Linked DNA regions of Homo sapiens: region 1 is linked to region 2. The links are contacts of gene promoters, found by promoter capture Hi-C in blood cells and fetal thymus (Javierre and others, 2016). All regions are on one chromosome and are shown on one strand. Each heading gives the region's core, a stretch centred on a gene start or on the middle of the fragment in contact. The rest is flanking DNA. Distances are from core to core; before and after follow the strand shown. Region 1 holds the start of PAF1 (PAF1 component of Paf1/RNA polymerase II complex). Region 2 holds the start of IGFLR1 (IGF like family receptor 1).

Region 1 (5,211 bases), core at 281-2,780, 3.6 Mb after region 2:
TGAGGGAGGCCCAGGCCTGAGCCTTTGCTGACCTAGAGCAGACCCTCCCTGTCTCCCCACACACCATTGGGGTCGATGCGGTAGGTGTCAGGATTGATGAGATCGATGGTGACCCCCAGGTCTGGCTCAGTCAGGAGGTCATGTTTGTGCTGTTTCTCCAAGGAAGTGGCTTTGTACTGGACGAACCTGGGTGGGGAAACACCTATTGTGGTGTTTGGATTCCAGCTTCACCCCTCACAGCCCTGCTTCCCAGAGGCGGAGCTTCTCTGGGGAGGAACTCAGAATGAAGTGTCCCCCATGGCAGAGTCTGAAAGCTGGCTCCCCAGTGGGAAGGGACTTGGACACTGCTTGCTCCATTAACAATTGAGCAGCTACTACTATGTGCTAGGGTAGGTACTGTGCTAGGCCCTGAGCAGACAGCAGCCAACGAGACAAGCAGTCCCTGCCTTCAAGGAACTCATACCTGAGTAGTTTTCCCATTCCTTAGTCTCACCTGTTCTGGTCGAAGGGGTAGGTGATGAACTTGGGGTCGAAGGGGATATCAGGGAGGCTATTGCAGTACTTGACTCGGCAGACCACTCCAGACCTAGGAACATTAGTGGCTCAAAAGTGGGCCCCCGCTGCCCCACCTCTGCTCCCAGCCCCACTGCCCCACCGCTCCTGGGAAAGCACAGTGGGGCTCACCTCTCAGGCAGAGTCCGGTGGGAATTGGGCCTAGTGGAGAAGAAAGAAACAGTGATAGGTGGAGAGGACGGGATTGACAGGAGAATGAAAAAGGCTTCCCCAACCTTTCAAAAGGTAGGAGGGGTGACAAATGCTGGTTTCTTTGGGTGGTGGTGTGGGGAGTGTCCAAATGCTTTAATGGAAGGAGACAAATGTTCAATTTATTTAGGAAGAAATGCCCCCAAAAGCTTTAATGAACAAGGCCAAGTGCTCAATCCCTTTTGCAGGAGATGGCTTCAAGTGCTTTAATAAAGAACCATGTACTCAATCGTCTTCGGAAGAGGGGTCTCCAAACGGTTGACTGGAGGGATCCCTTCTGGAGGGAGTCTCCAAAAGCCTAATCCCTGAACTGCACGGCGGGGAGGAGGGGAACACCTGAATCTCAGAAGGAACCCGCCCCCTTCGTCAAAGGTGAGCGCTTCATGACGTCACGGGCAGACCTGGGGGCTGGTGACGTTGTTCAGCAGAAACCCTCTCCCGATCCCCCGCCTTGCTGCAACAGAAAAGCGTGGCGCCTACCTGTGGCCATCCTCCCGCTGGGCCTGGGTCTGGATGGTGGGCGCCATAGCGACGAGGCGACGGCAGCCCGGACGGGGTCCTAGCGGGACCGAAGGGGGACGCAGAGGGGCGTGCCGACTTCAGGGGACGCCTGATCCGAGGAAGGCCCAGCTTGGCGCCGCTCCCCGCGGAAAGTGGGTTGAGATGAGGTGGGCGGGCGAGAAGAGCTCCAGCGAGACTCAGGTGAACGCGCAGGCAGCACCGGGGACGGACTCGAAGCTCCGGTTCCACCAACTGCCGCCAAGACGCTGAGGACCCAACGGGTCTCCTCAGGCCGCGACGCCTTCGGGGAAATGAAGTCCGGCTCGGAACCACACACGGATTGGCGAGCGTCTGGGTGAAGGGCGGAGCGAGGGAGAGAGGTGCTTCTGTGATTGGTGGAGAGATATCTCAGTCTGGACGCAGATTTGAGAGTGACGTAACGTTGGGGCACCTCCTTCCCCTCCATTGGCTTAATTGCCTAGGGGGCGGGACTAACTAGCAAACGGGGACTAGAAATAGGGATGCTGAAAAGCAACGGGGAGAGACGCAGTCGTAACGCACTTCCGGCGGTCTACGCGAGGAAGATGGCTGCATCCCAGCAGCAAGCTTCAGCGGCTTCCTCAGCTGCTGGTGTATCGGGTCCTAGTTCGGCTGGCGGCCCGGGTCCCCAGCAGCAGCCGCAACCGCCAGCACAACTGGTGGGCCCTGCCCAGAGCGGCCTCCTGCAGCAACAGCAACAGGACTTCGATCCTGTGCAGCGTTATAAGATGCTCATCCCGCAGCTGAAGGAGAGTCTACAGGTGATTGGCCTTAAGCAGCGAGAAGCAAACTGGATTTGGTAGTCTAGAGGGGCAGGCCGAGGGCCAGGTTAGTCGGAGAGAGCGCTAAGCAGAAAGAGGAATAGAACCTGCTGTTTTGGCCTGGCTGGTGCACGCCTGTGTTCCCAGCACTTTGGGAGGCCGAGGCGGGCGGATCACTTGAGGTCAGGAGTTCAAGACCAGCCTGGTGAAACCTCGTCTCTACTAAAAATACAAAAATTAGCCGGGCATGGTGGCGCGCGCCTGTAATTACAGCTACTCGGGAAGCTGAGGCAGGAGAATCGCTTGAACCCAGGAGGCGGAGGTTGCAGTGAGCCGACATCGTGCCATTGCACTCCAGCCTGGGCAACAGAGCGAGACTCCGTCAAAAAAATAAATAAATAAATAAATAAAACTGTTGTTTTCTGCGAGACCTAAGCGAAGCTCGGCAGAGATGGGATCAGCGCTGATGCTGAGGCTGGGACTGGCCGGAGCTTGAGTGAGGGGTTGTTTAAAGGAGAAACTGGGCTCTGGTCGTTAAAGCCTGAGGAGAGTACTGGCTTATACGGAGATTCTGCCCTTGATTGATAGGTGAGGGAGGACCCTTAGGTTATTGGCGAGAAGCTCAGGTGAGAGCGGGCCTCTGGGAGGATGGAGTGGTGACAGCTATAGGAATGGAAACGAATATTACTTTGGAAAGTCAGGAGGGAAGGTGCCAGTTGAAAAGAAAACCTGAGACTGAGTGATCTCAAGAAAGAGTGTAGATCTGCCAGAGGTATTCCCTTTTGTTTTTCCATTTCCCACGTGTTTTGTTTTTGTTTTGACTAGACCTTGATGAAGGTTGCGGCCCAAAACTTGATTCAGAACACTAACATCGACAATGGACAGTGAGTGCAGCCCCCTTTACCAGGATATTCTATTGCCTTCCCAGTCTTTGAAATTCATCTTTCCTTCTCCTGCTCCCCGCCCACCTCACCTTCTATATTTACTTTTTTTTTTTTTTTTTTTTGAGACAGGGTCTCCCTCTGTCACCCAGGCTGGACTACAGTGGCACGATCTTGGCTCATTGCAGCCTTGAACACCTGAGTTAGGAGATCCTCTTGCCTCAGCCTCCCAAGTAGCCAGGACTACAGACATGGCTACAGACTACAGATGCCTGGCTAATTTGTAAGATTTTTTTATAGAGACGGAGTCTTGCTATGTTTCCCAGGCTGGTCTCAAACTCCTGGCCTCTAGCCATCCCCTCAGCCTCACGAATCACTTCTCCTATTTTATTTTATTTTTGTTGTTGTTTTGTAGAGACAGGGTCTTGCCACGTTGTCCAGGCTGGTCTCAAACTCCTGGGTTCAAACAGTCCTTCCACCTTGGCCTCCCAAAGTGCTGGGATGACAGGCATGAACCATCATGCCCAGCCTTTTCCTTTTCTTTCTTTCTTTCTTTCTTTTCTTTTTTTTTTTTTTTTTTTTTTTTTTTTTTTTGAGACAGAGTCTTGCTCTGTCGCCCAGGCTGGAGTGCAGTGGTGTAGTCTCAGCTCACTGCAACCTCTGCCTCCCGGGTTCAAATGATTCTCCTGCCTCGGCCTCCCAAGTAGCTGGGACTACAGGCGCGTGCCAGCACATCTGGCTAATTTTTGTATTTTTAGTAGAGATGGGGTTTCACCATGTTGTCCAGGCTGGTCTTGAACTCCTGACCTCAGGTGATCTGCTCGCCTCGGACTCCCAAAGTGCTGGGATTACAGGCGTGAGCCACCGTGCCCAGCCTCCTTTTCTTTTTTTTTGAACCCCTCCGGTTTTCAACCACTACTTCAGATCTCCTGGACCTGTACCTGGTTTCCTGATGGACACTTGGTTGGGTAGATACTGGTGTCCCAAAGATTAGAAATCAATTCTTCAGACATCCTTTTTTCCTTGTCTGTAGAAAGAGCAGTGATGGACCCATACAGCGCTTTGACAAGTGCCTGGAAGAGTTCTATGCACTCTGTGACCAGCTGGAGCTGTGCCTGGTAAGAAGCCTTCTGGACACGGGGTAACAACAGCCGTGTCCCAGTCTCTGGGGTCTTCAGAAACAGTCAGTCAGTCAACTCACACTCAACTGGGGACCTCCTGTGGGCCAGACCTGTGCTTCCACCAACACTGAGGACACAGGGTTGCTCTGATCCTTGCCCTTGCAGAGCTTTCAGTTGAGTGGAATAATAAGCACACCCCTAAACAGTGACAGCTCAGAGTGGTCAGTGCTGTGATGGGAGAAGCCTAGGCCAGAGTGGTTAGGGTTATGATTGAGGAGGCACAGGCAGAGGGATCAGGGCTGGGATGGGGAAATCTCAGTGTGGAAGCCCAGGGTGGGGATAGGGAGAGAGTGGCTTAGGGAAGGCTACTGCTAGACAGCACATCTGACCAAGTCTGAAACAAAGAAGAGAAGAGGGGCAGGAGTTGAGAGGAGGGTAAGTGACTAAGAATACAGCCTCTGGAGTCAGATGCACCATCAATCTCTACCTCTGACCTCTGGGTTCCTCCTTAGGAAAACGGAGTTTCCAGGAAAACTTAGATTATGCGTGTAAACTGCTTAACATGATACCAGGCATATGGCAAATGTGTACTGTAGTATCATCATTATTTTGGACTGGTTTTTTTGGTGGGGGGGTGTGGGGGAGGACAGTCTCACCATCACCCAGGCTGGAGTGCAGTGGCACGATCTAGGCTCACTGCAATCTCCTCCTCCCAGTTTCAAGCGATTCTGGTGCCTCAGCCTCCCAAGTAACTGGGACTATAGGCATACCACGCCTGGCTAATTTTTGTATTTTTAGTAGAGATGGGGTTTCACCATTTTGGCCAGGCTGGTCTTGAACTCCTGGCCTCAAGTGATCCACCCGCCTCAGTCTCCTAAAGTGCTAGGATTACAAGCATGAGCCACTGCACCCGGCCTTTTTTTTTTTTTTTTTTTTTTTTTTGAGACAGAGTCTCACTCTGTCGCCAGGCTAGAGTACAGTGGCGCGACTTCAGCTCACTGCAACCTTGGCCTCCCAGGTTCAAGCGATTCTCTTGCCTCAGCCTCCTGAGTAGCTGGGACTACAGGCACGCACCACCACGCCCAGCAAATTTTTGTATTTTTAGTAGAGATGGGGTTTCACCATGTTGGCCAGGATGGTCTTGAT
Region 2 (5,074 bases), core at 1,063-3,562:
GCTCCCAAACCTCCCAACTTTATATCCTTTAATGGGGCCACATCCCATCTGATACGGTATCTGATAAGGTAGTTGGGCCCCGCAAGGCCCAACTACCTTAACCTAGGACCTCCCGACCCCTGCAGGCCAGCCACCTCCTGAAACCACGGCCCCACCCCTTACGTGGGGCTACGCCGGCTCCCTACATCTAGGCCCCCCACCTCCAGCACGCCCTTGCCCTGCCGGGAGTCCCATCTGCACCTCTCTGCAGCGCCACGGGGTTCTGCCCCCGCCCGCGGCGGGAGTAGGGGTCACGGCTCCGCCGCCGCAGGGGCTACATAGCTCCGCGCCGTCGGGGTTGCACTGCCCAGAAGAACACTTTCGGAACGGGGGCGTTACGAAATCGCCGTGGTCATTGAGTCCGCAGTTTTCCCGGAACTCATAGTCTAGCGGGAAAGCTGCGCTCCAGTGCGGCCGCCTAGCCCGCCCCTGCGCGGGCAACGCCCTCTCCCTTCGCCCTATCCCAGCGTGCCCCGCCCCTCCAGGACGCTTCCAGCCTATTAGCGTGCGCCCCGGTCTTGTCACTTTTCTCCGGGCTCGCCTTTTCACCCCCCTCCAGCCTGCTCCGCACGAAGCTCCGCCCACTCCCGGCTTCTCTACATAAAGCCCACCCTTTCCACGCGGCCCCTATCCCGCCTCTCCAGCCATATCCATTCGCTGTTGCCCTACGGTAGCCCGCACTATCTGCACAGGCTCTGCCTGCCATCCCTGTCTGATCTGCATAAGGCCCACCGCTTAGACCCCTAAGCAAGCCTCTCTGGCCCGTAGCCCACAGACCTCGCCCCTTCCCCGCTCCCTATCACCTGCAAGCTCCGCCCAAGCAAGGCTCGGTCTCGGATTCTCACCCGGGCAGGGGGGCGGCCCGAAGCGTTGCAGGCAGCTGCTGCAGCACTTGTTGTCTGGGTTCCAGTATTCAAGGCGGCCGCAGTACTGGGAGGCTTCCGGCGGTGGCGCCAGGGCCAGAAGCAACAAGGCCGTCAGGAGGCATCGTCCAGGCCCCATCTGGGGGGCCGTGATAGCGGGACTTCCAAACACAGCGCCTCTGCTACACTTTCCGGGGAAATCGGGCAGAAGAAAGGACGCGGTGATGTGGGGGAACAGAATTCTCACGCCTCTTCGGAAGCCGGGAATCTACCCCCGAGCCCTCATCCCCCAACTGAGCCGGTTATCAGAGAAGCCCACAAGGCCACTAGGGGACTAACAGGGCTGCGGATCTAGATTGCAAGAATGCATATCCCACCTCTGCCGTGTCCTCACCCACCCACCCTCCCTTTTCCATCCCTAAAATAAGACAATGATAGCACCTGTCTCATAGGGTTATTGTGGAGAATTAGAACCGTCATTAGAAGTAAAGCAGGGGCTGGGTGTGGTGGCTCATGCCTGTAATCCCAACACTTTGGGAGGCCAAGACAGGAGGATCACTTGAGCCCAGGAGTTCGAGAGATCAGCCTGGACAACAAAATGAAACCCCATCTTTACAAAAAAAAAAAAAAAAAAAAAAAACAGCAAAGCACTTTGCCAAGTGCAGTGGCTCACGTCTGTAGTCCCTGCTACTAGGGAGGCCAAGGTAGGAGGATTGCTTGAGCCATGAATTACAGACCAGCCTGGGCAACACAGCAAGACCTCATCTCTAAAAACAAAAAAAACTGGCCGCCGGGCGCAGTGGCTCATGCCTGTAATCCCAACACTTTGGGAGGCCCAGGTGGGTGGATCACCTGAGGTCAGTAGTTCAAAACCAGCCTGGCCTACATGGTGAAACCCTGTCTCTATTAAAAATACAAAATTAGCCGGGCGTGGTAGCGCATGCCTGTAAATCCCAGCTACTTGGGAGGCTGAGGCAGAATTGCTTGAACCTGGGAAGTGGAGGCTGCAGTGAGCTGAGATCGTGCCATTGCACTCCAGCCTGGGCAACAGGAATGAAACTCCTTAAAAAAAACAAAAACAAACTAAAGTGCTGAAAACAGCACCTCACATACAGTAAACTCAGTGTTTAAGTGTAAGGCATTACTAACTCCCATCACAATTCGGCAGGCACGGAGGAGTCAGCCCCATACTGGCTGGAGACCACCTCCCAGCACCTCACCTCACCTTTGAATCCTAATCTCCTTGGGGCTAGGGCTCCTCCCACCTGCCACAACCAGGTCTCTCCCCCTTGAATAAGCCTCAGATGGAGGTGCTAAGGTTTTCAGCACAAAGGTGTCCCCACCCTACCAGTACCGTTAGGGTCCTGGGTCCCAAGCTGGCCGTGCCAAGTTCCTCAGCTGAAGTTGTGGCCAGGACCCAGTCTTGTTTCCCCTTTTCGTCACATGTGTGGGTGGAGGGAAATGCCAAACCACAGCAAAAGCAAGTTGATGCCGAAGTGAAACACGCAGCTTTATTAAGACAGGGGCGGTAGAAGAAGGTCTCCATGCTGAACAGATTACATTATGGAGCCCGGGAGCCTGGGAAGGATGGGGCAGGAGAGTGAAGGGGGCTTTGAGGAGAGGTCCTGCCAGGAACATCTGTCCCTGTTGGGGGTGAAGGGTAAGGGGGCCAGGGCCTCAGAAGCGGCCATGCCAGTGATCAGGGGAACACCGATGGTTCCTCTCTCGGGGATGGTGGCCAGTATGGAACCTCGGGGGTGACCTGGGAATAGGAGCGTTGAGAGTTCTGTTAGAACCCTGAGGAGTGGTGCAGAGATCCTGCAGGCCTGCCTCTCTGCTCTGGGATGAGGCAGGAGGGTGCTGAAATAACTAGAGTTCTAAGACACGACCTCAGTGGCCAGTATCAGGGGAACTCAGTGGCCAGTATCAGGGGTGGCAATCCAGGCTGGTCGTGGATTAGGGGTTCAGGCTGGTTTGGGGATTGGGACTTAGGTACTGGTCTCCAGATGGAGCTCAGAACTACTCTTAGGGTATAAGAGTCTTGGGAATGACCGGGCGCAGTGGTTCACGCCTGTAATCCCCACACTTTGGGAGGCCGAGATGGGTGGATTACCTGAGGTCCGGAGTTCGAGACCAGGCTGGCCAACGTGGTGAAACCCCATCTCTACTAAAAATACAAAAATTAGCCAGGCATGGTGGCAGGTGCCTATAATCCCAGCTACTTGGGAGGCTGAGAAAGGAGAATTGCTTGAACCTGGGAGGCAGAGGTTGCACTGAGCCAAGACTGCGCCTTTGCACTCCAGCCTGCGGAAGAAGAGCAAAACTCCGTCTCAAAAAAAAAAAAAAAAAAAAAAAAAAAAAACAGTCAGCCGGGAGTGGTGGCTCACGCCTGTAATCCCAGCACTTTGGGAGGGTGAGGCAGGTGGATCACGAGGTTAGGAGTTCAGACCAGCCTGGCCAAGATGGTGAAACCCCATCTCTACTAAAAACACAAAAATTAGCCGGGCATGGTGGCAGGTGCCTGTAATCCCAGCTATTTGGGAGGCTGAGGCAGAGAATTGCTTGAACCCGGGAGGCGGAAGTTGCCATGAACCAAGATGGTGCCAATGCACTCCAGCCTGGGCAACAGAGTGAGGCTCCATCTCAAAAAAAAAAAAAAAAAAAAAAGATTCTTGGGAACGTGGTTACTGGGGCTTAGGGTTAGGCTCATCTGAGGATATAGGGGCCTTAGGACATGAGGAGACATAGCAGGCTGGTCCTGAGGTACCTGCGCCTGGGTCCCCGCCCATAGAGCTGCCTCTGGAGGTTCTGGGAAATGGGCCGCAGATGCATGAAGTTGCAGAAGCCACCTCGGGTACATTCCCTGCATAGAGGGTAGAGAGATGGAGGAAGCCATTGTCACTGACAGCCCCTACCACGCATTCAAAGTCTGGGATTCCAAGTGCCCATCCCACCCTTGAACTACCATACCCCATCTCATACTGGCGACAGCATGACTCCCGGAAGTCAGTGACAGGAGACAGCTCACCGTGCACAGCCTGCCCGTTGAACCAGCGGTTACTGAGTTCAGCCACGGCCCGCTCTCCATCCTCCTCCCTCCGGAACTGCAGGAAATGTCAGTCAGGGTCAGCAGGAGAACTCAGAGATCTTCAGGGGACTCACTACCCGCTCTGGGGCTGGACTGGATTTAGTGATGAAATTCAAGCTGAGAGCCTACAGTGGCCACCATCAGGCATTGAAACGCCTCCACTTCTGGGCCCTAAGTGGGGGGCAGCAAGCACCTTGACATAGACGTTGCCCACGAGGTGGTCCCCAAGGTTGTCGCACACATTCATCTCTTCAATCTCCCCATACTTCTCCTGCAGTTCTGTGAACACCTCCTGTGGAAGACGGGGAGGAACTCAGCTGAGCTCCCACAAGAAACCCCATCTGCCCCTACCAACCCTCACCTCGAAGAAGCTATCATAGTGCTCCTGCACCTCCACGTCACTCACATGACCTGGGGTGGGGGCGGGCAGGGTGGAATCAGAGTGTAGCCTACTGGGGGCTGTTCACCTTGCCCCCAGGCCTGGTCCCTTACTCACAGTGTGATCCGTCTGCAGTTTGGGCTGTGTTCTGTGGATTCCGGTACAGGTTGAGCAGCACTATGGTCTGCACAGAATTTAAAAGGGGCGGGGCCTGAGCTCAGAGGGCAGGGCTGCATGAACAGAGAGTGAGGCATGAAGGTTGGGGGTGGAACCTTACACCCCAGCCTAAGCATCATGAGTGCATCGGCGATCCTTTGCCCCTAAGAAACCAGAAAAGGGATGGAGGGGACTGGCAAGGATGAACAGCGGGATGGAAGGGACTGGCAAAGATGAACAGCCGCCGTGTGTAGCCTGTACGCATGGGGGCGCGACCAAGTTCCCGGGAAAACGGCACGAAGACCGGTGGGAGGAGCCTGCAGAAAGGTCCAATGAGAAAAAAAGCCGGGCGGTGGGGAGGGACTCAGGAACCCGGAATAGGCGGGACATGGTGACGACGGCCCCAGAAGGGGAAGGGCCAGGGAGCCGTTAACCCCCGAGGCTCCGTGCCGGGTCTCACCTGGCTGAATGTCGGCTTGTTGTGAAGCCGGGAGCACCGGTCCCCGTGCCGGCAGACCCCGATCTTAAAGTAAAAAGAGCAGTTAACCC

Evidence for each region. Contacts are between HindIII fragments. The CHiCAGO score rates a contact against its expected background, and 5 or more counts as called.
Region 1: a contact is called between the fragment with the promoter of PAF1 here and the fragment with the promoter of IGFLR1 in region 2, in 1 of 17 cell types (fetal thymus). The highest score is 6.5, in fetal thymus.

Annotation. Positions count from the first base shown.
Region 1 is chr19:39,389,576-39,394,786 of GRCh38, forward strand. It overlaps PAF1 (PAF1 component of Paf1/RNA polymerase II complex), which reads right to left and starts at 1,531. Exons shown (of 14, transcript NM_019088.4): 1 at 1,243-1,531; 2 at 685-714; 3 at 494-586; 4 at 65-186. The coding sequence starts at 1,289. MED29 (mediator complex subunit 29) reads left to right here and starts at 1,803. Exons shown (of 4, transcript NM_017592.4): 1 at 1,803-2,063; 2 at 2,889-2,947; 3 at 3,978-4,062. The coding sequence starts at 1,848. It also overlaps a transcript of SAMD4B not described here. RefSeq lists a silencer at 189-320 and an enhancer at 1,858-2,147. The HindIII fragment of the contact is 958 bases long and covers 910-1,867 here.
Region 2 is chr19:35,740,140-35,745,213 of GRCh38, forward strand. IGFLR1 (IGF like family receptor 1) reads right to left here and starts at 2,313. Exons shown (of 5, transcript NM_024660.4): 1 at 2,257-2,313; 2 at 885-1,084; 3 at 241-425. The coding sequence starts at 1,041. U2AF1L4 (U2 small nuclear RNA auxiliary factor 1 like 4) reads right to left here. Exons shown (of 6, transcript NM_001040425.3): 2 at 4,986-5,073; 3 at 4,184-4,282; 4 at 3,873-4,006; 5 at 3,670-3,765; 6 at 2,388-2,664. The coding sequence ends at 2,580. RefSeq lists enhancers at 1-261, 609-718, 2,066-2,495 and silencers at 399-528, 3,831-3,991. The HindIII fragment of the contact is 10,043 bases long and covers 1-5,074 here.